Linked DNA regions of Homo sapiens: region 2 is linked to region 1. The links are contacts of gene promoters, found by promoter capture Hi-C in blood cells and fetal thymus (Javierre and others, 2016). All regions are on one chromosome and are shown on one strand. The core of a region is centred on a gene start or on the middle of the fragment in contact, and the rest is flanking DNA. Distances in the headings are between cores, read along the strand shown. Region 1 holds the start of SEMA6A (semaphorin 6A). Region 2 has its middle 190 kb from the start of MIR1244-2.

Region 1 (2,515 bases), core at 8-2,507:
GACCAAAGAGGGAACGTGGACTTATTAGTGGTCTTAGTCCCAATTAGGGAACAGGTACAGTTTCCAATATAAAGAAACTCGGCCTAAGTGGGACTGAGACCCCGATCTCCGCACTTGCTTTTCTCAGCCAACTCCATGACTAGTAAATATCTCTCCGAGAACTGCTGGGCCGCCCGATGTTACTTTGTTTAAAGGTTGCGACTAGGATCCGTACCATCTGCGAAGCCCCCTTGGGGAGCAAGAGCCGCGGCGCGCAGTTGATTTCGGGGCGCAGCGGCAGGGGGAGGGGAACGTGGTGTGGCCCGACGAGTTGGCACAAGCCTGTAACTGCAAGACTTTGTAGCTATTGAAAGTTCAAGTGGTGAAAGAAGGCTGTGCCTGCCATTCTTCATGTGATCATAACAATAGCGCCTTGGAAGTGGTTGCGATTTTCTTCTTCCATAAACCTTTTGGGTTCTCACTGGAATTGTATGCGTGTTATTTCTGAAGTTTACTTATTTCTAAGACCAGTCCACAAAATGTGAACTTCATTAAGTTTTAAAATAGATCGCCGTCGTTAAAAACGCCATTCTCTGCACTGTAGTTTATTTGCTTACTTCACATGCTTTATTAACGTGTGTATGTGCGTAATTAATAGCTGTGTTCTTATCTTCCAAGTGTATTTTTAACCGCACCGGCTTCTATCCAATTCATCTAACTACGTAGAGCGTCCATCGCTTCTGGAATCTACCTCTTGATAACAGTAATCAGAATCAGAAAAGCTCGCCGTTCACTTACCCTCATCCTTTAAAACTTTTCCATTTAAGAAAATCGATGAACAAAACCTTTCTTGTAACTCGCTCCTGCACTACGTCTATTTTTATTTATTTTTCTGATTTGGCAGGACTCAGCAATGCTGTCCGGGATTTTTTTTTTCTTTTTTTTTTTCCTAGCTAGAGCAGATGTGGGGGTGGGGGAGGTGAGGGCTGGGCTCCAGCCAGAGTCGCCCCCGCTGAGCCTCCGCCTAGCGCGCGGTGGGGCCAGGAATCCTGGTGGAAGGAAGCGGCGCTGGCCAGTTGGTCCAAGGCTCCACCTGCAGCCACACCGCGTAGTTTCTCCGCCTCTGCCTCGCTCACTCGCACTCACATACACCACAGCTCTCCTTTGGGTCGGAGGAGACGCCAGCCAAAGTAGGCGGAGTTGCGGAAGGAGAGTCCGATCTGCGCAATCCAGTCCGGGACTTGGCTCCGCCCGGGAGCGGCGGCCTCTCCGGTGACAGAGGAGTAGTGAGCGGCACGGGGTGAGGCTGCAGCCAACTCCGCTCCCCGCGCACTCGGCTGCCCAGGCGCTCGGAACCCAGCAGCGGCGCTCCTCCGCGGTGCCGGTCGCCCGCGATGCCCGCTTAGCAGCGTGTAGCAGCGGCCAGCATCACCACACCCGCGGCACCGCGCTGCCGGCCGCAGAGCCGGGCCAGAGCCTTGCACCCCTGCCCCAGCCCCCACCCCGCCCCCCGCCCTGAAATGACTTGTTAATCGGCGCAGACACCACCAAGGGGACTCACCGAAGTGGAATCCAAGTGGAATTTGGATTTGGAGAAGAGTTTCTTGAACATTTACCCTCTTCCTTGTTGGTTTTCTTTTTCTTTTTCTTCTTTTTTTTTTTGGCTTCTTTTTTCCTCTCCCCTTCTCCGCTCGTCATTGGAGATGAACACATCGCGTTTGCATCCCAGAAAGTAGTCGCCGCGACTATTTCCCCCAAAGAGACAAGCACACATGTAGGAATGACAAAGGCTTGCGAAGGAGAGAGCGCAGCCCGCGGCCCGGAGAGATCCCCTCGATAATGGATTACTAAATGGGATACACGCTGTACCAGTTCGCTCCGAGCCCCGGCCGCCTGTCCGTCGATGCACCGAAAAGGTACGCCCCGGGCGCCCGGGCGCGCCCCACCTCCCGGGCAGCTGGACTCCAGCCTGAGGGTCCCGGGGCCGTGGCTAGCGCGTGCTGTCGGCTTTGTGGTGCCTGCGTTTTATTTTGTCTTGTGTCTCTGTTTCCCGAGCCTTGCCCGGTCCTGGGGGAGCAGCCGTGAGCCCTGCCTGCCTTTCCTCTCTGCCCTGCGCCCCAGAGTGCGTCCGGCTCCACGTCGAGAGCTTTCCCACCCGCGTTGCGCACACGCCCGGCGCCGCCCCGGGCCGCGACGGCGCGTATGGCTGTTCCTCCTGGGGGTGTGTGTGCGAGACCCAAGGCTCATCCTCCCGCGTGCCCAGCAGGGAGCAGAGCGGGCCCTAAATGGTGGGATTCTCGGAAGCTCCCTGGCCCGGTGTGTCGAAGGCAGGGGAAGGGGTTCTGCCCTCGAGGGCTGGAGGGGGTTGGGTATAACAGCGCTGTTTTCGTCCAGTGCCAGGTGGGAGAAGGGGTTCCGCGGAGACGGTGTGGAAGCGGAGAGAATCTTTTGTTGTCAGTGTGGGGTCTGGGCTGGGCTCCGTGGAGTGCAAGAAACTTGTAATGGCTCTAGGCACCCGCGCGCCCTGTCTCTCGGT
Region 2 (2,515 bases), core at 5-2,504, 2.2 Mb before region 1:
CCCAGAAAATTTGAATTCTGAATTGGAAAATTCAGAAAACTATGAAGATGAAATAGATTTCCATAGGCTAAGTTCTTAAACTAACCAACAAGAAGACACCCACAACTCAACCCTTCCAAACTTTTTTCTTCCCAGCAAGGAAGGTGAAAGCCCATCCTTCTGTCTTCTCTTTTCTTCAGCTGTGGGACCATCCACCCAGGCTTCCTACATACAATTCAGCCCCTCCCTGTCCCTCCTTCCACTCCTCCAGTTCAGGTGCATTTTCTCATCTCTATCTTGATTTCTGACATAGCTCCTGAGTGGTCCAGCTGCCAAAAGTCTTACTCTTCCCATATCCTCTTACCATCTGTCTGAAATTCAAATCTGACTGTGTCATTCCCTTTCTGAGACTTACCATCACCATAGGGATGCCATTCCATAACATCTGCAATCCCGACCAGATGTTCCATTATCAGGCTTCCATATTTGTCATTGCTATCTCCCATTATGCCCGGCATTGCACTTTGTACTTGAGTAATATAGAACTATGTGTAGTTTTCAGAAATATCATGCTGTTCCATACCTGGTGCCTTTGGTTACAATTTTTTCCTCTACCTATAAAACTCTACCCCAGTGATTTTCAACCAGGGACAATTTTGTCCCTTGAAGAGACAGTTGGCAACATCTGCAGACATTTTTGTTTGTCATAACTTGGGGAGGGGTGCTACTGGCACATAGTGCATAGAGTCCAAGAATGTCACCCTTCCATAACAAAGAATTATCTGGCCCAAATGTCAATATTGCCAAGGTTGATTAACCTTCCTCTACCTCTTCATTTCCAGTAGGATAATTTCTACTTTCCGATTATGATTTAGGTAAGACTTTCTCTTCTTTAGCAAATTGTTCATGATCCTTCCTTTTGTAGGATTGGGGAAGTAGCCCTTTGCTGTTCTATGAAAGTGTTCTCTGTGTATACCTATACCATATTTTCATAGGCCATATGTTATTATAATTTTTTATTTTTAATAAAGAAAATACAAGTGTTAACAAATAAGCTGTCAGATTGTACCAGAATAATGGCTAAATCCCACATTTTTAGTTCAAAGCAAAGCCAACAGGTGGTTCAGCTACCACTCCTCAGGCTTAAGATGGAAACAAATACAGAAACCAGCTCTACAACCAACCACCCTCCTTCCACACTGTCAACACAAGAAGAAAGTCTATCCCCTCACTCACATTTTGGAGAGAAGATGCTTTCTTTCCCCAAGGATAAGAGGAGGTCCTGAAAGAATTTCCATTAAAAAAAAAAAAGGGTTGGGAGGGCAACCTTCCAAAAGGGTAACTATCATTTTTATTTCTTTTTGGGATGTCTGCTTTGCCAGGGAATTGGGGAAAATCAGATGTGGGTAGTGAGCTTTTTACCAGTGGGCCATGTTGGAGTAACCAGCCATCCATACCAACTGCCCTGAGTGTATATACAATGAGTGAAAACAGCAATTAATACTACCAAACTAAGGCAAGACTGCAACAAATCAGTCAAGACCGGCCCAGTCAGGAGGGTAGTTTTTGTTCCTTTCTTGCTCCCTCAGCCACACCCTGACAGGGTAGCAAGCAACAGTGGGTAGAGGAAGAGGAGAGGAGAGGTGTGGAAGTCAAACCCTCCACTTCAGAGGAGTAAAATCAAAGCTCTTGCGTATGCTTGGGGCTGGGGTGGGAGTAGAGAGAAGAGATTTGAATCAGATGTGTTACTGAAGTTTTTTAAATAAATAGGACTAAATCATGGAAACAGAAAGGGTACTGTTTGTATAAGTCAGAGTGTCTTAAAACTTATGGAACTGGGTCAAGATTATATGAAGGAAGGCATTACTTATATAAGACATCTAGGAATAGCTACTGCCAAAAAAAGTCACCTTTATATCCCAGTGAGTTGACAGGGTTCAATAAGCCATTCACAAATATCTATGATAAAAAATTTCAAACAGCACAAGAAGAAATCATAATTATACTGTATAATAATGCCATAATCTATATGTCAACACAACACTGGGGGTCTTAGAGTCCTTCCTTCTTCTTATGGGGAAATCGTCACATGGGATGGGTGAGTCATGAAGTTCGGAGCGTCTTGGGTCCCTCCTACATTAGGGAGTCTCCATTACTGCAGAAGGCCTCTTGCAGGCCTGGAGTGTGAGTAGACAGGAAGGTCAGCAACAATGCCTTTCTACACCGGAGCTCAGAAGGAAAGCTCCATTAGCCTTCACCAGACCCACATGACTTACTTTAATGTCAGTATATAAGATCTTTTTTGAAGGTTTGAGTATTCTAAGAAAGGTTTTATAGAGGTCAAAGTTCTAGTTAACTGGGAACTTCCTAAGGGAAGGCATTTCAAATTAGTGATGTGGATGCTGCCTGTACCCCTGACTGGGCTCATACCCTGCCACACAGACACACACACACAGACACGCACACACACACACACACACACACACACACACATTATGCAATCCCATTTTTTGGTGTCTTGGTCTAGAAGACAACT

The links. The method cuts DNA at HindIII sites, captures the fragments that hold promoters and counts their contacts. A CHiCAGO score of 5 or more calls a contact.
Region 2: a contact is called between a fragment that was not itself captured here and the fragment with the promoter of SEMA6A in region 1, in 1 of 17 cell types (endothelial precursors). The highest score is 11.9, in endothelial precursors.

Annotation. Positions count from the first base shown.
Region 1 is chr5:116,573,565-116,576,079 of GRCh38, reverse strand. SEMA6A (semaphorin 6A) reads left to right here and starts at 1,257. Exons shown (of 19, transcript NM_020796.5): 1 at 1,257-1,895. It overlaps SEMA6A-AS2 (SEMA6A antisense RNA 2), which reads right to left and starts at 1,662. Exons shown (of 3, transcript NR_147170.1): 1 at 1,541-1,662. RefSeq lists a silencer at 1,422-1,501. The HindIII fragment of the contact is 8,307 bases long and covers 1-2,515 here.
Region 2 is chr5:118,786,387-118,788,901 of GRCh38, reverse strand. No RefSeq gene overlaps it. Among named protein-coding and RNA genes, the nearest start is that of MIR1244-2, 190 kb to the left of the region's middle. The HindIII fragment of the contact is 6,843 bases long and covers 1-2,515 here.